4 separate regions of the Homo sapiens genome follow, and regions 1, 2 and 3 are each linked to region 4. Evidence: promoter capture Hi-C in 16 types of primary human blood cells and fetal thymus (Javierre and others, 2016). All regions are on one chromosome and are shown on one strand. The core of a region is centred on a gene start or on the middle of the fragment in contact, and the rest is flanking DNA. Distances in the headings are between cores, read along the strand shown.

Evidence for each region. Contacts are between HindIII fragments. The CHiCAGO score rates a contact against its expected background, and 5 or more counts as called.
Region 1: the fragment with the promoter of RAB29 here is called in contact with the fragment with the promoter of RBBP5 in region 4 in 5 of 17 cell types (non-activated CD4 T cells, naive CD4 T cells, neutrophils and 2 more); the score reaches 7.9 in non-activated CD4 T cells.
Region 2: a contact is called between a fragment that was not itself captured here and the fragment with the promoter of RBBP5 in region 4, in 1 of 17 cell types (total B cells). The highest score is 5.1, in total B cells.
Region 3: the fragment with the promoter of NUCKS1 here is called in contact with the fragment with the promoter of RBBP5 in region 4 in 3 of 17 cell types (activated CD4 T cells, naive CD4 T cells and total CD8 T cells); the score reaches 6.1 in activated CD4 T cells.

The regions. Positions count from the first base shown.
Region 1 is chr1:205,772,796-205,777,718 of GRCh38, forward strand. RAB29 (RAB29, member RAS oncogene family) reads right to left here and starts at 2,687. Exons shown (of 6, transcript NM_003929.3): 1 at 2,478-2,687; 2 at 2,038-2,291. The coding sequence starts at 2,161. RefSeq lists an enhancer at 1,552-1,601. The HindIII fragment of the contact is 8,570 bases long and covers 1-4,923 here.
Region 2 is chr1:205,634,619-205,640,212 of GRCh38, forward strand. No RefSeq gene overlaps it. Among named protein-coding and RNA genes, the nearest start is that of ELK4, 5.4 kb to the left of the region's middle. The HindIII fragment of the contact is 9,419 bases long and covers 1-5,594 here.
Region 3 is chr1:205,748,224-205,753,083 of GRCh38, forward strand. It overlaps NUCKS1 (nuclear casein kinase and cyclin dependent kinase substrate 1), which reads right to left and starts at 1,959. Exons shown (of 7, transcript NM_022731.5): 1 at 1,734-1,959. The coding sequence starts at 1,750. RefSeq lists a silencer at 1,133-1,732 and an enhancer at 2,153-2,402. The HindIII fragment of the contact is 8,985 bases long and covers 1-4,860 here.
Region 4 is chr1:205,119,712-205,124,790 of GRCh38, forward strand. RBBP5 (RB binding protein 5, histone lysine methyltransferase complex subunit) reads right to left here and starts at 2,267. Exons shown (of 14, transcript NM_005057.4): 1 at 2,144-2,267. The coding sequence starts at 2,162. RefSeq lists enhancers at 327-885, 2,049-2,228, 2,369-2,588 and a silencer at 2,950-3,244. The HindIII fragment of the contact is 6,684 bases long and covers 1,801-5,079 here.

The sequences.
Region 1 (4,923 bases), core at 1,437-3,936, 650 kb after region 4:
AAGCTCATTTATTTGCTACTGTTTGTCTCCAAGACTGGGGGTGGGAGTAACTATGAAAACAATTCTCATTCTCAGGTTAAATAGTTTCTGGGAGATTTAGGGGGTTTTCTCAGGGAAGGGGTGATGGGGGAGAAGGGGGAAATGAGACAAGTGTGGTTGCTTTCGTATCTTCCACATTCAATTTCACTGTTGGTTTCTAATCAAATTGTATTATGAAAAGAACACACCCTGGGGAACTCTACATCCACCATAAGGTTGCAGGTATTATCTTGGGCAAGAATGGAATAAATGGAAAAGGTCCCAGAGGAGTCCCAAGAAGAAGACACTGTGTGGATGTTGCTGAAGAGTCCTGCTGGAATCTACCACCAAGTCTGCAGGTGCTGAGACTCCTTAAGGCTGAGTAAGTATTCCATGGGGAAAGCCTTTTGGCTAAGGAGAGAAACAGAGTAATTTCTGAGGTTTGGAAATATTATCTTTCACATCTGTGACAGGAATCAAAGCTAAGGGAAATTTAGACTAAACACTGAAAAAAAAATTAGCCAATTATATTCTTTGCTAAAGGAAAACTACAGCAATTGTTAAAAATTAACTATTAATAGCAGGCCACTTTTAACCCAAATCCGTGAAATAGGGACCCTTATATTATTTAGGAGTGGGAGGGCAGAGCGGTCAGGATAGAGTGTCTGAAACTTTGAACCTTTAATTTTGCCAGACTTAAATTTTTTGTTCCTTTGTTTTTGAGACAGGGTCTCACTCTGTTGCCCAGGCTACAGTGCAGTGAGTGGTGCGAACGGGGCTCACTGAAGCCTCGACCTCCCCAGTTCAAGCAATCCTCTCGTCTCAGTTTCCCGAGTAGCTGGGACCACGGCTACTTTCTTCTTTAATTTTTGTAGAGGTGGGGGTCTTGCCATGTTTCCCATGGCTGGTCTCGAACTCCTGGGCTCAAGCAATCCTCCCGCCTCAGCCTCCTAAAGTGCTGGGATTGCAAGTATGAACCACGGTACTGGGCCCTACTGGGGGTTCTTAAGGAGAATGTTTTAATTGCAATGTAAATGTTTGTTAATTTCTTTTTAAACTTCCATATGAACAGGAGCACACATTTTCAATTTTTCCATTGGTACGAGTTTTCCCCCCTTGAAACAAGTTCTTTTAACAGAGAGAAATAAAATTTTAAGTTACTCTCCCCCATCACCAGCTCTTCCTAGCTAAATACCTTCTAATTAACAATAAGGCATTTCTGCCTCTGAAAAAATAGTTGAGTCCAAAGGCCACACCCGGGAAAGAAATGAATGAACTCGGTGTCCCCTTCCTCCCTACCTTCTCCAGTTTGAGGAAAAAAGTGGTGGGAAGATAGGTCAGAGAAGTGGTATATTTCACATTCTTGGAAGAATTCCTTGGTTACCTTTATTTAAGCAATCAACGGACAAAAACACAGCTCATCAGCCCTCATGGGCATCTGACTGCGTAGCCAAGGGGCTCGTTCGGGGATTTTGTGTCTTCCATCCCACCCACAGCCCCACAACAAAGCTACAGTCCTTCAGACCAGTTCCGCTTCCTGCGTTCTCCCACTGAAGCCAGGTTAAACACCTTGCGGTTCCTCCCTCAACAGAGGGGCAGGACTACAGCCCCAGCCGGCACCTAACCAGGAGGCCCCACAGAGGATCTCAGCTGCTTCTGCTGATTGGAGAGATTTGCCGGACAGCTGAAAGGCTGGAGACTTAAGTTCACAGTACGCCTGCAATAAACAGCAATTGCTCATCCTCATCCTCCCTTCCCTATTTCTCATCTTCACGCCTTTGCTCTTACCTTTCTCCTGGCAGTGGGCTCAGTTTGGGAAAATCTAACGGGAAACTCAAGAGAGGCGTGTAAACCAAACACCCGGCAATTACACCATCTAGGTTCCCAGACAGTACTTCCTGACCCGAAGAAGGACCCAACAACCGACAGCAAATCCCCACCCCACTTGGGTCCCCAGCTCGAGTCCGCGGTCGGGGCCTCCTCCTCCCCCTCCCCCTCCCCACCCCCGAGACGTCTCACCTCCCACCGTGGACTTGTAGTGTTTGCTGAAGCTGTCCTGGGAATATCGCTGCACCAGCGACGTCTTGCCCACTGCGGCGTCCCCCACCACCAGCACTTTGAACAGGTGGTCGCGGCTGCCCATGGCTAGCGGGGTGTGCGTTTTAGGGAGGCGGGAAGTGTGGTCGGGGATCGGGGGTCGCTCGTTTTAACCCCTTTGGATCCGGACCCTCTTCAAACTGAAGTGAGGCATTCCCACCCACCGCCTGTCTGGGCTGCTCTGACGAGAAAGCAAAAAAGGAAACTTTGCACTCAACCTATACGCGCTTCCTCCCCGGGCGGCCGCAACCTGGGTGGGGCGCAGGGCGCGAGCTCCGAGCCCCCGGCTGTTCGCACCTTCCCCACCCCCTCCTGGCCTGACTGCCGAGAAACTGGACCAGGCGCCGCGGAACCTCACCCACCGGGACTTCCCCCGAGCGGCTCCAAGTCAGTGACTGAATCCCAGTCAGCTCCTTACACCACTGGGGCCAGATGATGGGGACCCTCCCCTTGCAGCACAAACCAAATTGTGAGGAAGGAGCAGCCGGCACCTCGATTCCCTAGACGCCCTCCCGCGCGCCTCTCTCTCCCCTTCCTCCGCAAGCGTCACGTGCAGGGTTGCCTGTGGCACTACATTTCCCAGCTTTCCTCGCGGTAAAGAGAACCAGCCGAGTGCGGAGGCTCACCGCGAAGCCTCCTGGGAAATGTAGTATATTCGTTATTTTGTTTTAAGCAAACCTACACCAAGTTTCAAGGCTTCAAACTCCCTCGACAGTTTGGAATCTTATTTTGAAACAATTCTAGGTCAGTAAAGATCCCTTAAGGGGAGATTTGTGCAACGTGATCTCACTGGCCTGAATCCATCCCCAGATAGTTTTCTCCTGTCTTTAAAGGTTTAACTGAGTTAAGATTGAAACTTATTTCATTAGTAAAAGCCCAAGCCTCATCCATCATGCTCCAAGTGAAGTCCATTTCCTATTCCTTCAAGTAGATAGACAAGCCCAGGACTTTGTGAAATGACTCATATTTTCTGTGTGAACTTGCCCAATACCAGGCAAGTTCAGGAAAACTTGACCCAAGAGACCAGTCTTTGGAAAAAAACCTATGCCAAAAATTACAGCATTTAATATCCAGCAATAACAATAAAGATGGACAGAAAACAAGAGACAGTTCTCCATTCATACTTCTACAATGCCTATTCTAGCCATACTACTCATGTATCACTTGAGCTAGAAGCTAATTGAAATACACTGGGACTCCTTCTTGATTTGTTGTGGCTGTTGTTAATAGATAATCATAAAACTAGTGTTTGGCAAATAATTTTAATTTCTCAGCCTGTAACTTTACTGACCTACCTGTCACTTGGGTAGAAGTTGGCAGGACATGAGCTCAATGGCAAGCAAAGAGAGCTCCATTTTCTATACTTTTCTAGGAATAGAGGAAGAGAACCAGCGGGGCCATGGGAAAACAGCCCAGGACCAGACACTAGGAAATCTAGGTCTCTTGATAGAGAGGCTATCACTTATGTTTTGTGGCGAAAGAACATCAGCATGGTTCACAATATATTTTGCCCAGAATGTTCGTTACCCAGGTACAGGAGGTTAGTTCAAGCTACTCATCTTTAAGGATCCAGTTTTCTCTGTTCTTATTCGTTTTGACATAGTTGACCACTCCTTGACATTTGTTTCCCTTATGCCTTCTATGACGCTGTTCTTTCTTTGTCATCCCCGTACTTCTCTGATGATTATCTTTTTCTTTCAGGTTTCTCTCCATCCCATTTCCCGCTAAGTATTTCCTAAGGCCTGATTCTTGGTCTCTGAGTCAATCATTCGATAAACTCTTTAGTGAATTGTCCTTGGTGTCAAAGATCTATCTTCACTTTATTTGTTCTTTATCTCTGATCAGTGATATTCTGTCAAGACCAGCTCTGTTGGGGAGACCCTAACCCAGTGGCGCTAGAGGAATTAAAGACACACACACAGAAATATAGAGGTGTGAAGTGGGAAATCAGGGGTCTGATTTCCTTTAGAGCTTTTAGAGCTGAGAGCCCCGAACAGAGATTTACCCACGTATTTATTAACAGCAAACCAGTCATTAGCATTGTTTCTATAGATATTAAATTAACTAAAAGTATCCCTTATGGGAAACGAAGGGATGGGCCGAATTAAAGGAATAGGTTGGGCTAGTTAACTGCAGCAGGAGCATGTCCTTAAGGCACAGATCACTCATGCTATTGTTTGTGGCTTAAGAATGCCTTTAAGCGGTTTTCCACCCTGGGCGGGCCAGGTGTTCCTTGCCCTCGTTCCTGTAAACTTACAACCTTCCAGCGTGGACGTTAGGGCCATTATGAACATGTTACAGTGCTGCAGAGATTTTGTTTATGGCCAGTTTTGGGGCCAGTTTATGGCCAGATTTTGGGGGGCCTGCTCTCAACATGTCCCTCTTCTCTGATTTGCAAATTGATAAATGCAAAGGCAGCTTTGTCACGGTGAGCTACTTCTCGCAGGAGTCAGGATACACATCTGCAGACTATACAAAGACAAACAACACAGATTAAAAGCACAATCATCATTGAAATCACAGAGCTTCCAAGTGTTTTTATCCATTTTCGGCTCCTTTAAGCACTCCAGTTCCTGGCATTAAGGTCAAGTGTGCCTCGGATGCTTTAAATATTTCTTCTTTTAATTTTAAATCCTTATGTTAAGCTCCTAGAGCGGGCCATATCATTTGAGGTTGAGGTGTCACTATACTGCCATGGTTCCAGATAATAGGAACTCTTGCTGTACTTCTTATTATATCTACCATCTGACCATTTTGTTCAGACCAGCTGAACATAGTGTGGCCGTGGCACGCAGACTGAGAGGTGCA
Region 2 (5,594 bases), core at 1,363-3,862, 520 kb after region 4:
CTGGTCTCAAACTCCTAACCTCGTGATCCGCCTGCCTTGGCCTCCCAAAGTGTTGGGATTACAGATGTGAGCCACCGGGCCTGGCCTAGATTTTTTTTCTTAATCACTGCAGTTAACTCAGCTCTGCAACCCCTTGCCCCTAATTTAATTACATTTCCTATCCCAATAACACCTAGTTATGATCATTACTTCTCAAGGCAACTTCCTCTTCCCTCTCTTTATTTCACTGCTTCATCATTACTCCCAGTCACTATCCCTTTTTCCTAAAGAAGTGTTTCACGGATTTTTGACTGACTAAGCAAGCATGGAGCCATCCAGTTGCCTGTTACGTCTTTCAAGCAATATCCTGTAGCACGTGACATTAAGAAGAGATATCTTTTAAGTCAAAGACAGCACCCACAACCCCAGGTGGGGACAAGTGTGGAGCAAATTGCAACATGACTGAGAAGAAAGAATAAAAATCTGGGATATCTGGGTTCTAGCCTTTGGGTCTCCCTAAACTCAAAACTTGAACCTCCTGAGAAAATCCTTGCGACTTACCCTTTCTGGGTTTCACTTTCAACATCTTTAGAAATAAAAGAGACATACCTTTCACTTCATGTCTGTAATGGATAGACTAAAAGAAAAAGGCAGTAGGCTGGTTGTGGTGGCTCACACCTGTAATCCCAGCACTTTGGGGGGCTGAGGCAGGTAGATCACCTGAGGTCAGGAGTTCAAGACCAGCCTGGCCAACATGGTGAAACCCCATCTCTGTTAAAATACCAAAAAAATTAGCCAGGTGTGGTGGCAGGCACCTGTAATCCCAGCTACTCAGGAGGCTGAGGCAGGAGAATGGCTTGAACCCGGGAGGTGAGGGTTTCAGTGAGCTGATACCGTGCCACTGCACTCCAGCCTGGGTGACAGGAGCGAAACTGCGTCTCAAAAAAAAAAAAAAAAAAAAAGCGGTTGATCAAATGATGCTTTGAACTCTTGGTAAATAGCCCTATTGCTGTTATATTTGTGTGGACTGAGATCTTAGATAGAGGTAAAGTTATCTTTGAAAAGAAAACTCTGGCTAGCTGTATATTGAATCTGGCAGCACTGGCAACCCCTACTACCTGTTAAGGTCCTAAACTTTACCAAATATAACCAGTAAACGTTTCATCCCCAATAATAAGGCTTTTAATCAGAGGGTATTAAGGGTCCGGAGAAAACCCAATCTGAAGGTCATTGAACAAGGTACTTGTGGCCTCTAGACTGTGAAGTAAACTCATGGCAACATCTTTCAGGACTAGCTGTAATCTCCACACAATACATTGTTTTTTCAGAGAGGACATGACGAGACATGAGTTATTGCAATTACCGCCTGAGGCATAGCAACTGTCTAATATGTTTGATGACCTGTCACAAACACAGGTCAGAAAATAGCTTCATATAATTTTCATTCTTGATCTCTACACCCAGTCTACTTATTTTCTTTTAATATTTTTAACCTCAAGTAATTTTATTGGTCTTTGATAAATGTATTATTTCTAGACTTATAAAAATTGATATGGAATATGTAATAGAGAAAGAAGAGAGAATATATCAATTTTTTTTTGAGACAAAATCTCACTCTGTCACCCAGGCTGGAGTGCAGTGATGGGATCTCGACTTACTGCAACCTCTGCCTGCCGGGTTCAAGCGATTCTCCTGCCTCAGGCACCTGAGTAGCTGGGATTACAGGCGTGTGCCACCATGCCTTGCTAATCTTTGTGTATTTAGTAGAGACGGGGTTTCGCCATGTTGGCCAGGCTGGTCTCAAACTCCTGACCTCAGGTGATCTGCCCACCTTGACCTCCCAAAGTGTTGGGATTACAGGCGTGAGCCACCTTTGGAAAAGGTGTTCCTTAATTGATAAAAGCTCATGAAATCTGCCTTTTGTATAATTGTTTAAGATTCTGGTGTTTGGACCAGCTCCTTGCAGAATACATATTGCTCTGAATTTTAAGCCAAAATAATTTTTCCTCTCTGGTGTATTTTATAATCACTGTCTGGAAAAAAAACTTCTTCAATTAAAGTTAATTAAGGAAGCACCAATATATGATACTATGCTGTTATTACAGAAGAAACTCAAAGAGCATTTGCTCTTCTAGGAATTCTGAGTCTTGAATTGGCAACACTGACACCCTCAGCGACCATCATTGCTGTCCACGACTTCCAGCATTTTCAGAATTCTTTTGCTATCCCGTTGACATGAACAAAGAATTCAGCTAAGGATTCAGAAATGATGGGAGAGGCAGTCAGGCTGACAAACGAAGATATAAGTGCAGCTCTGAGCAGGGTTTTGTGTTGTGAGGGAAGTAAAATGAGGGTTTGGAGAGAGTAAAATTACCACCTCCCACTGCATTAAAGAACATTTCCTGGAAAGGGTGGAGTTTGAAAGACTTGGTGCTAATTCAAAAAGATGGAATGCCATCTTTTTTTTTTCCTTGCTTTATATATCCAGCAGCAAAACAAAATTGTTCTGCTGTGCTAGAAAATTTGGCTTGTGAGTCGTGTACACAACTCAGGAGTGTGACACAGCTACCAGCTTTCCTCCTAACTCTCAAGGGAAGAAAATTCAAGTTCTGTCTAGGCTCACTCTGTAAAGTGGGAAACTTGCTGGTTTTGTAGGCTTTTTTTCCCCTTCTTTCCCTCTCTCAGCTTCTCCCTGCTTCTCAGAAGATGGAGTTGTGATGCCTGCAACTTACCAAATTTATCTATGAATCAGATTCCAGTGGGAGACCCCTAAAGCAGAGGGAGAATAAGGAGTTCTCCCCATGATGGAAAATATCCAAAGACAAGGTTTCATGGAGCAAAGAATTCTGGCTAGATTTGGTTTGTAAGTGGATCCCTCCCCACTGTGTGTACACTTTATCTGTCTCTTTGCTTCTTCCCCACCCTCTTTCCCAGCTCTCTCTCTGTCTCTCTCTTGTTCCCTGACCCTTTTTTCTTCCTATGCATACTTTTTTCTTTCCCTTTTTAATCTCTATATCTTAATCCTACCAATGGCCCTCTGAGAATTTATTAGCCATGATAGGGATTCTTAGGCCTGAGATTTCTTATCAAAAAATATTTTTAAAGCATTAACCGTGTGCTGAGCTCTGTGCTGGATACTTTAGGAGATTCAAAAATAAGACCAGTCTCTTCTCTTCAGAAGTTTCCAGTAGATAAAGGGGTAACATCACTATAATATAGGAAAGAGTATTTAGTGGAGGTAAAAACTACGAATGTTGAGAGTGTTGAGAGTAGGGAGGAGAAGATCAGGAGAATCTTCGTGTTCCCACCAGAGAACCAACCTGACCACTCCAGGGTATGGTATTCAGGCATTTGGCCTGAAATGTCTTCTTCTTTACTCTCTCCCATCTGACTGTCTCCTACTTTAGGGCTCAGCTTAGATGTCCCCGATTCCAGGAAGTCCCCTAACACCCTAAACTAGGTTTGGGACTTTCCAGTGTCTCCCATCATGTCCAGTACTGGTCCTTGCAGCACTCTCCACACTGACTTGAAGTTTCTTACTTGTCTCTTCAAGTGTTGGAAATGAGTTCTGGAGAAGAGAGCCCAGGTTGTTTACCTTTGCAGCACAGTTGCAGAATAATCCCTGCCCCAGGAGTGGCTCAGTAAAGGTTTATTGAAGAGATCATCCAGGAAAAGGGAATGGCATGGCAGAGCTCAGAGGCACAAACTGCCTGGCATAGAGATTTGCAGCGTGGCTTGCGCTGGAGTCCGTTTCGTCTGCCTCTCCACGGCCTTTGCTTCACCCACTACTGCCTCTCTTACGTTCGGCCTCTCACCTCCCTCTCCTTCTGCTAGTAAACATGCTCAAGTCCCACCCATTTAGAAAACTTCCCCCTTCAAGTATTAGCCTTTCCTTCTCTTTAGTATCAAACTTCAAAAAATAATGGTTTCTATCTCCTGCCTACCCATCCTCACCTTCTGCTTACTCTTCAGCCCGCTGAATCTGTCTGCTGTCTCCACCACTGACTTTTCCGTAGTAAAGGCTACAGCTATCCTGATTGCCAAATCTCACATTCCCTTTTCAGGAACTGTCCCGTTCGCCATCTTCGGCTGTTCCTCAAGACCAGTTTAGATGTTGCCTCCTTAGGTACACATCCCTGACCTCCAGAGCAGACTTAGCTGTCCCTTCCTGGCACCCTCTCGGAAACACTCTCTTCTCTTGGCCTCTGTGATTCTTCTATCTCCCTAACCAGTTTTTGTCTCTCTTTTGGGACTTCTCTTCTACCAGCTCTGAAAGAAAGTTCTGTCCTTGCTTCAGGTTTCTATCTTCGGCCTGTTGTCCTTCAACACACTCCCCATAAGGGACCCCATTCTCTCCAAGCCTTCGTTCATCACCCAGATGCTAATGAGCCCTAACCTTTATCCTGTCTTCTGTGAACTCTGGATCCGTTTCCAGTGTCCTACAGGATTTCTCCACCTGAATGTCCTCATGACACTTCCATCTCAGAATATACAACTTGAACTCATTACTTATACCTGCCACACCAAACCCTTTCCCAGTTTCAGTTGATCCCCTTTCCCAGTTTCAGTTGAAAGCGTTACCCAGACACCTCAGTCATCCTCAACAATTCCTTCTGCCTCACCCTCCACAGACAATTGGTCACCATGGCCTGATGCATGTACCTCTAGAATATCTCACATTAATCTGTTCCTCATGCCTGTCCCCAAGGCTCTCATCATCATCTCTCTCTCTTTTTTTTTTTTGTTGAGACAGAGTCTTGCTTTTTTTGCCCAGGCTGGAGTGCAGTGGTGCTATCCTGGCTCACTGCAACCTCCGCCTCCCAGGTTCAAGTGAGTCTCATGCCTCAGCCTCCAAGTAGCTGGGATTACAGGTGTGTGCCACCACTCCCAGCTAATTTTTGCTTTTTTTTTTTTTTTGGTAGAGACAGGGTTTCACCATGTTGGCCAGGCTGGTCTTGAACTCCTGGCCTCAAGCAATTTACCCACCTTAGCTTCCCAAAGTGTTGGGATTACAGGTGTCAGCCACCGTGCCCAGCCTGTCATCATCTCTTGCTAGGACTATTGCAGTAGCCTTCTAATTTGTCTCCCAATAACAAGGCAATCCAGCCCATCCTCCACATTGCCACATGGAAAATTTCTGAAGTACACATTTGATTGTGTCACTCAGCTGTTTTAAGAGTAGCCAGTGATTGATTTCTCTGCTGCTTCCAGGATCAAGTTCAAACTGTAACCTGAAAGACCTGTAAGCAGCAAAGTTTAAAGGCCATATCACCTTCCACTGTTCCCTACTTTCACCTTTCACTGTCTAGCTCTTTTTAAGCCTAATCCCCTCCTTCATAAACTATATCCCCTGCAAACACATAAAGCATTTTCAGGACTCCAGCCTTTTGTTTATATAGTGCTCTCAGCCTGGATTGTCTCCTCTATCCGATGAGATTCTGAAAAACTAAATGCTGTGTCAGTCATCTCTGTATATCCAATGGGTCCTTGCCCAATGCCTGGCATAAAATAGGGACTTAGTAAATTTTGAATGATTAATTCCCACTTCAAGGAAGACTCAGCTCTCAAATGTTATTTCTTCCCTGCTTCCCCTGACCACCTCCCACCTCTACCCC
Region 3 (4,860 bases), core at 709-3,208, 630 kb after region 4:
TCTGGGAAAACAAATTCAGGCAGATGAGATAAGAACGTCACCACAATAAAATAAAGTCATCAAAACTTAGTGAACTAAAATTTAAAAGGTAGAGGAATTATTTTTCCTAATTTGACCTAATTTGACCACACAGTAATTACTTCCAGAAGACAAAAGATCCAATCCAGGTAAAATAAATCTTTATTTTATTATTTTACCTGATCCTAAAGAAAATATTCTACGTGAGTTGATGGATACATTGGTCAAGTTTTATGCCAAAAAAATTACGCAAACTATACTCTGAAAGAGCTATCCAGACTCCTTGCCAAAAGGCCAGCATAACTTTCAGAGTAGAGATCGTGAGTTACCACAGATGCTGATTGAAACAGAGCTAACAGCAGCTTTCTCCTCATTCCCACCCCGTGTGTAGGAGTACGCAGTCTCATACCACCACCAGTTGGAGGATGATCTAGTCTGGAGACAGAACGGTGTAGAACAAAACCCTTGCCAGGGTCCCAAACCTCTCTTTAGAACTCTAATTAAAGGTACTTCCGTTTCCCACACAACTTGGAATGAAGGGGAAGCAACGACTGTTAAAACATTTAAAAACTAAGCCTTTATCTATTTATTTAGAAAACACACTATGCAAAGAAGCCAATTCCTTACATTAAAAATATTTATTTGCAACAGCTCTCCTTTTTAAGGCCTCAACAGATTGGACTAAACCACACCCCTCCATAAATGGCACATTCCATACAATAGCCTGGAGAATGGCATAGGACGATTCCACCGACAGCTGGGGGAATAGCAAACTTGTTGAAATTCCGAGAATGAAGTCTGATGGTTACCCGAACCTAGCCCTTTTATTACTAAAGTCACTCGGGGACAAGAGGGTTACAAAAATATCCCGAGACGCGTACGCGGGTGAGAGTGGAACGAGAACCACACGGGATTTGGGCCGTGCTGTTAACCCGCACCTCCCTGAGTACGGACATTTCCCCGAGGAAGGACATTTCTAGTCGGAGAGAAAGAGCGAACTTTGGGGTTAACTCTCTCAAAACTCTGAGGTGGGGAGAGAGGCAGCAGCCCATTATTTTCCAGGATCCAGTCCCGAACTCTCACTTTTGCCCGGGGGGAAAAAAACGGGTCCCGCCCACGCTCGGCCCGATCCGGGAGGCGGGGCCTGCAGCGACCCCGAAGGACAGAGGCGGGGCCGGTTGGCAGTGCTGCCCCTCCCCCTTTGCCAGGAACACCCCCGTCCGCTACAGAGAGGGCTCAGGGCCCCCACCCCCGCGCCAGTCGCTGGGGGAAGGGGCAATACGGGTGCCTCCGCCCCTCCTCGCTGAAGGTGGGGAGTGGAGCTCGAGTCCGCCCGCCTCCCCGCGCTGGCTCCAAGGGGACGGCCCCGAGGAGGTGGGGCCTCTTGGGGGCGCTGACTTCACACCCCTCCCCCTCCGGCCGCTGGCGGCTCAGGGACACCCCGCCCGCTCTAGTGCGGTGGGTGGGGGAGGCAGCTGAGCAGACCGGAGCCCTGCAGCGGCGCGGGGCGGGGAGGGGCGCGCGCACGGGCGCGCAGCCACCACCCCCGCGCGCCAGCAGGGCCCCCCACGCTCAAGGGTGCGCGCGGGCCCCGAAAGGGAGGAGGCCGCGCGCGGCACCGGGGATGGCGGACTCTAGCCTTCTGTCCCCCACTCTTTTCACCACTCGCCCCCATCCCCCTCCAACCCGCTCCAGGCCTCAGACTCCGCACTGACCTGACAGGCCGCGACATGTTCGCTGTCGAAACAGGACCGAGTCGAGAAGCCAAAGACCAGGACCCCCCCCACCCCGCGCGCTCGGCGCCCCACCCCCCCCGAACTTCAGCCGATGGGACCGCTGCTGCCGAACCCCGAGCTGCTGGCTTCTCAAACTCCGCTGCTCTTTGGTTCAGGGCTCCTGGAACAGACGAGCCCCCCGCTCCCCCGTCTCTTCAAAATGGATGAATCAAACCAGCCGAAAATGCGCCAAAGCCGCCGTGCAACCAAACCCACTAGGGTTTGTGCGCTCCTCCCCAACACGCCTGCTCATTGGAGACTTCTGCCAGATGCGCCCAGATCATTAGTCCGTTTGAATCATCACGTCTTCCAGGCCCCGCCCTGCTCTCTGATAGGCTCCACCTTCACCGTGGGGGTCCTGTTAGTCAAGATGCTCTGAGAGCGCACGGCCGCAAAACAAAAATGGTCGCTGCTTAGCCCGCCCCCTGGTTTCCACTCCAGAGTTGCAGATTCGTCTGGGGTCGTATCTTAGAAAGACTAGAAAAAAAGATTTATGTAGGGTTCAGCGTTGCTCAGTGTTAGTTTAATGGTGTTTCATCTCGTCTGCCTTGATCACCTTGAAAATCCTCTAATAGCAAAACCCGTGGGAGAGGCAGCAGATTCGTCACTGCGGGGCTGCTACAGAATTGGAGGGAAATTCCTTAGGTTCAAAAAATTTGACCTTAAACCTACAAGCCCCTTACCCTGGCTTCGGCATTAACCCTCAGGGACCAAATGAGGCTGCTGGAGTAGAGAGGCAGGATCATAATCAAGGAATATCTTCACCCCCAATTACCATTCTCCATTCTGGACCTTGAGATCCACTTCAGGGTCATTAAAGTCCCAGTCTGGTGCATTACTATTTTAAGAAAAGAGTCAGGTGTACAATAACTAAGAGCATGAGCTCAGGGGCCACAAGGTATTTCAGGTGGAATCCCAGGTCCACTACTTAATGGTGGTATAACTTTCCTTCTCTGTGCCTCAGTTTTCTCATCTGTAAAATGGGAAACAAGGGTACCTAACTGCATAGGCTTATTAGTATTAAATGAGTTGATATATCTATCAAAAGTCTTTAGGATAGTCTCTGGCTCACAGTAAGTGCTACGTAAGTGTTAAATCCAAGTTTTAAAAGATGATTCCGTCCCTGGGTAGAGATGGGTGGAGCTGGCTCAAGACCCTATGAATTCTATTGATTTACCCTTGCACTTTGAAAAACAAAACAAAGACTCTTCGAAGTCATATAACTGAAAGTAACGCACATCATTTCACTTAAATCCGTGAGCATTTGTTGGATGCCTAATACTCTCAAAGGCAGAGCTCAGGATTCCTATGTGAATGGCTAAGGCTGAGTCTGCTATCGAAAATAGACGTCAATCCCTGTCACAGTCAAAGCGATCATTTTTGTTTGGTGGCTGTGCGCTCTCAGAGCATCTTGACTAACAGGACCCCACGGTGAAGGTGGGGCCTATCAGAGAGTAGGGTGGGGCCTGGAAGACGTGATGATTCAAACGGACTAATGATCTGGGCGCATCTGGCAGAAGTCTCCAATGAGCAGTCAGTTAACAACCAATTGAAGATACACTTTCCAAACAACAACAACAAAAAACACACCACATCTGCCTCCTGAAAGTCTCCCTTTGTAAAATCTGGCTTCCCAAAAAGAAGAGAATAGCACAGTCCACCAGTGAAGCATTAAACAAATTAATATCTTTTGTCTCTTCCATGTCATTCCACCCTCTGTCCCTCTTATTTTTATTTTTAATTTTTATTTTTTCGAGACGGAGTCTCACTCACTATGCTCCCCAGGCTGGATTGCAGTGGCACGATCTCTGCACACTGAAACTTCCACCACCCGGGTTCAAGCGATTCTCCTGCCTCAGCCTCCCAAGTAGCTGGGATTACAGGCGTGCTCCACCATGCCCAGCTAATTTTGGTATTTTATTGTGGAGATGGGGTTTCACCATGTTGGCCAGGCTGGTCTTGAACTCTTGACCTCAAGTGATCTGCCTGCCTTGGCCTCCCAAAGTGCTGGCATTACAGGAGTGAGCCACCGCACCCGTCCCCCGCAATTTTTTTAAATTGTGGTTAAAAAAAAAATACATAACATAAATGTACCACTTTAACTGTCTCTAAGTGTACAGTTAAGTGGCGTTAAGTACATTCACATTGTTATGCAACCATCACCACGATTCAACACCAGAACTTTCTCATTTTCCCAAACTGAAACTCTGTGCCCATTAAACACTAACTCCCCACTTTCCCCCTTCCCCATAGCCGCTGGCAACCACCATTTTACTTTCTGTCTGTATGAACCTGACTGCTCTAGGAATCTCATGTTAGTGTAATCATACAGTATTTGTCCTTTTGTGACTGGCTTATTTCACTTAGCATAATGGCATCCAGGTTTATCCATGTTGTAGCAAGTGTCAAAATTTCCTTTCTCTTAAAGGCCAAATAATATTCCACTGTATGTATATGCCACATTTTGTTTATCCACTCATCCATCAATGGACACTTGGGTTGCTTCCACCTTATGGCTATTGTGAATGATGTTGCTGGGCAAGTGGGAGTACAAATATGTTTGAGTACCTGCTTTCCTTTCTGGATATATACCCAGAAATGGAATTGCTAGATCATACAGCTATTCTGTTTAATTTTTTGAAGAATTGCCGTATGGATTCTCCATCAGCTGTATCATTTTACACTCCTACCAGCAATGTGCAAGTGTTCCAATTTCCCCATGTCCTTGCCAACAGTAAGTTTTTTACAATAGCCATCCTAATGAGTGTCCATATACGGTTTTTTTTTTTTTTTTTGAAACGGAGTCTCGCTCTGTTGCCCAGGCTGGAGTGCAGTGGTGCGATCTCTGCTCACTGCAAACTCCGCCTCCCAGGTTCACGCCATTCTCCTGCCTCAGCCTCCCAAGTAGCTGAGACTACAGATGCCCGCCACCACGCCTGGCTAATTTTTGTATTTTTAGTACAGACGGAGTTTCATTACGTTGGCCAGGCTGGTCTCAAACTCCTGACCTCAGGTGATCCACCCGCCTCGGCCTCCCAAAGTGCTGGGATTACAGGCATGAGCCACC
Region 4 (5,079 bases), core at 1,017-3,516:
ATCTGTACTCTCTTCTTCCTCTACATAGATTAATACATGGAAGGCACTTGAAAATCTGCCTAGCTCAGAGAAAGTACTTTATAACCGTTAGCTAACTTATTATCTCCACTTATTCCTCCTCTTAACCTCTAACTACAGATTGTGTGCTTGGCAATTTTCTTTTCTCCCCCTCCCACTTTTTCTCTAGATCATGTCCTCTATTCACAAGGTTTCAATGAGCCCATCTGAAAGAATACAAATCTCTCCCATAAATCCAAACCTGTCTCCTGACCCCTAGACCACATTCAGCTTCTCCAAAGCTGTCTTTTTCCAATGACCTTACACTTTATCAACAGCATCATTATTTGCTCTCACCATTTTTCACGTCACTCTCTTACTCATCAGCACTATATGCAATCTATTCTCAAATTTGTCATCCCTACCTCCTCAATGTCTTTTCTATTTCCTAGCTCAGGCCTTCCTCATCACTCATATAATCTACCCCTCCAAACTGGTTTTACACTCCTCCAAAACTCAACTCCACATTGCTGTCAGACAAACCTTACAAACTCATAGCTCTGATTGAGTTACTAAGTCAAAATCCTTCAATGGATCTACCCTACCTTCCCTAAAAAGCCCAAACTTTTGAGCTAGGCATTCGAGAACCAACACAAAATAGATGGCACCGATCCCATCCCCTGGCATTCTCTTTATCCACAACCTGGCCAAGCAGGAAAATTCTTTAGGTCTTCTCTCACTGATGCCTACTGAACATCCCTCCCATATTTTCATACTTCAGCCTGTTGATATTTTACCAACCTTAAAAATCCACTTAAGGCCGGACACTTTGGGAGGCTGAGGTGAGTGGATTGCTTGGGGCCAGGAGTTTGAGACCAGCCTGGCCAACACAGTGAAACCCCATCTCTGCTAAACATACAAAAATTAGCCAGGCATGGCAGTGCGCACCTGTAGTACCAGCTACTCAGGAGGCTGAGGCACGAGAATCACTCGAACCCAGGAGACAGAGGTTGCAGTGAGCCAAGACTGTGCCACTGCACTCCAGCCTAGGCGACGGCGCGAGGCTGTCTTAAAAAAAAAAAAAAAAGTCCACTTAAAACTCCAACTCCTCCACAGGTTTGGGGGGTTTGTTTTTCCTGGTTGACTTCTTCCTTTACCCCAAAGACATTCACTCTCTGTTCCAAACATTCTTAGCAACTGGTAATGACTCTTTCAGGCCTGCCTACATTCTGCAATATCCTACAGCTATTTTACATAATCACCTTAAACTCCCTGCTTAATGAAAAGCTCTTTAAGGGCAAAGACCATTTTTTATGTATCTTTGTAGCCCTTTTGACAATTAACATATCTTCTGACTTTTTTAAAAGAGAAACCTAACCATTAGGAACAGCAAGTAGTGCAGAAGTCCTTGAAAACCTCAGCTACCCCTAGAATACCATGCTAAATGTCACCTAATGGAAGTCCAGGAGAAAGGACCTACAGTTTTTAAATAATCTGGATAGGAGGTAAGGAGGCAATGACTCAAAGTGAGGGCGACAAAAGACAACTCCCTCCGTATTTCACACCTCAGTGTTTTACACACCGTCCCTAGCAAAGGACCTTAAACAGAAAGTTAGGATAATTGGATTCCAGTGCCAACTATGCCATTTACTTGCTTAGTGCCTAGCCATTACCCTCTGAGCCTTTATTCATCTGTTCAATGAGAAGCTTCTACCAGAAGATCTCCAAGTCCCCTCCTTAGACTTCTCTTTTCTACAAAAAGATTAACCTGTTCAGGCACCCAATTCCCTGACAAGTCTTCAAAGCTTCATCCCAAGCCTCACTTCTTCAAATTCCATCTCCAACAACTCTGGTCCTGGCTGCTCTGGGTACTTCAACACCTGCGATCCTCATAATCAAAGCTAAGTCACAAACTGTCTGTCCCCATCGCTCCATAATTGATATGAAAGTGGCCTCGGGAGGGGCAATGCAACCTACTCGGGCAGAAGGTGGGCTTCCTCCTCCCGCTGCTGCTCCACATCAGGTGTGCCCAGTGATCCATAGCCGAACAGTGTCCCTAAGATTGCAGCCTGACTCCCCTCCCGCCTGGGTTCCCTCCTTTCCAGTACCCAACGCTTCTCTAAAACGCAGCCACAGCCCTTCTCACCCAGCAACTCGAGGTTCATCCCTGCGGACTGTGGCCGCCCGGTCTCAGCTCCGGCAACAACACCTTCTCCCCGGCCGGCTTCAGCAACTTGCGTCTAAGTGGTGGACGCCGCGAAGAGACTGGCGCAAGCTCCGAAGACTTTCGGCCTTAGAAGGCCCCGCGGCTTCCGCTTTCTTCCCCCGCCTTCCTTGTTCGTTTCAGGTGGGCTGCCCAAATATATGCCTGACCAAAATCAAGCATACACTCTCTCGGAAACAATTAATTATGATCTTTGCTGAGGTACAACAATGTTATCGTCACTAGGGACTTTAAATAGCGCGACAATTTAAGATTATTTGCTCCGGGAACATGTAGGTGAGGTAGAAATTCCAGGCATACAGTTAACCTACTAGTTCTTGCCCTGTTGTGTGTTCAGCGGCGTTGTCCGGGCGGGCTACCTCAGACTCCGCAGGAAAGGTTCCGGACAAGTCCTGCTAATGCAAGAAACCAGGGAAGGTCGTCCCCTAGTGCTCGGGTGTGTAGCGCCGCTGACCTCACCAAGGCGCGTACTTACCCTGTATGTAGGTGGCGTTGCAGGGTGTTTCGGTCTCGTGAAAATTATTTCTCATTTGTAAAGATATGCTATTGATCCTACAGAAAGGTACGACAACATATGTTAGGCCTGTCTGTGTTAAGATAATAAAAACCTTATTATCTAAGGTTTTACCCTTTACCAAACAGTGTTGACAGGGACGCTGTGAAAAAGACTGTGAAAAAGAATTGGAATGAGGGGTGGACTGAGTTTCCCGGAGCTCAGTCATACAGAACTCCAATGAAATACCCAAAGCAATTAGAGAAGTCCAGTTACTGGTATCTAGCGAAAGAGCAAATTTTATATGAACAAATTCCTACTATAAATGCTGTGGCTCATCAGAAAAAGGAAACAACGTCAAAGGCTCGCTGCAGAAAATAGTACTCGGGCTAGGTCTCCGACAATGGAAAAATACACATACACAAGTTTATTAATCGCAGTATTGTCTGCAATTGCAAACTTTTGGAAACAATAATGAAACTTTTGAACTAGGGAGCCCAGCATTTTCATGTTGCCCAGGGCCCTGCAAATTATGTAGCTAGTCCAGTCTGCCTCTACTTGACAAATTTGCAGAAAAAGCAGCCTCATTCACACAGTGCACCCTGTCCCTGGGCCCCAGTTGATTGCTCTTTCAGTAAGCCCCTGACCTAAGCTCAACCCAATTAAATTCCTTTCCCAAGAATTTGGAATGGGAATTAAGTGGCCCCCACAGTCTGACACATCGATTGAAGAGAGTAAATGTGAATTAAGGAGCTATTTAAAGCGCCTAATAATAGATGGACACCATGGTAGTTGGCTGCAGGTTGCAGAATGAAGCAGAAGTCCAGAAACTAGTCAAAGATAATACTTGGTGTATCCAATTAGTTCCCAAGAACATATTACATTAATGTCTTCTATTTCCATTATCCTTGGACCTTTATAAAGTATGTCTTTTGCAGCCGGGTGCGGTGGCTCACGCCTGTAATCCCAGCACTTTGGGAGGCCGAGGCGGGCTGATCACCTGAGGTCGGGAGTTCGAGACCAGCCTGATCAATATGGAGAAACACTGTCTCTACTAAAAATACAAAATTAGTTGGGCGTGGTGGCTCATGCCTGTTATCCCAGCTACTCGGGAGGCTGAGGCAGGAGAATCGCTTGAACCCGGGAGGCAGAGGTTTCAGTGAGCCAAGATCGCACCATTGCACTCCAGCCTGGACAACAGAGTGAGACTCTGTCTCAAAAAAAAAAAAATCCACAGTTTTTCTACTCTCCAAAGACAAAGGAAAACTTTGCATAAAGGCAAAAGCAACAAGGAAAAATATCGTGTGAAAACCACAGCCTAGTTTCCTCTAAATTCTCTGACTCTACTCTCAAATCCAAAGTAATCATATATATATGTATTTAGAGATATGGTCTCACTCTGTTGCCCAGGCTGGAATGCAATGACGAAACCATAGCTCACTACTGTAACCTTAAATTCCTGGGCACAAGTAATCCTCCTGCCTCAGCCTCCCAAATGCAGGGATTACAGATTACAGCTGTGAGCTACCACGCCTGATTCCAATGTAATAATTTTTACAGATTGGATGCTAATATAGCTAATGAAGTTAAAATTAAAGCTGTTAAAAATAAAAATAGTGAGGCCAGGTGCAGTGGCTCACACCTGTAATCCCAGCACTTTGGGAGGCAGAGGCCAGGCGTATCACGAGGTCAGGAGTTCGAGACCAGCCTGGCCAACATGGTGACACCCCGTCTATACCAAAAATACAAAAAATAGCCAGGTGTGGTGGCGCATGTCTGTAATCCCAGCTACTAGGGAGGCTGAGGCAGGAGAATCGCTTGAACCCAGGAGGTGGAGTTTGCAGTGAGCCAAGATCATGCCATTGCACTCCAGCCTGGGCAACAGCAAGACTTCATCTCAAAATAAATAAATAAATAAAATGAAAATAAAAATAGTGTTAGAAAACCCCTGAGGAATTTTCTTTTCTTTTCTTTTTTTTTTTTTTGAGAGGGAGTCTTGCTCTTGTCGCCTGGGCTGGAGTGCAGTGGCGCAATCTCAACTCAGCACCCGGCCCACTGAGGGATTTTCAGTACACCTTTTTCCTCACACCTCTTTTTCCCTTTCTACCCCTCCAATCCTATTTGGACTTTCTTTTTTTTTCTTTTCTTTCTTTCTTTTCTTTTTTTTTTTTTTTTTTGAGACAGAGTCTCACTCTGTCGTCCAGGCTGGAGTGCAGTGGCATGATCACAGCTCACTGCAGCTCAACCTCCAGGCTCAAGTGATTTTCCCACCTCAGTCCCCCCAAGTAGCAGGGACTATAGGCAGGCACCAACATGCCCAGCTAATTGTTGTAGTTTTTGTAGACAGGGATTCACCATGTTGCCC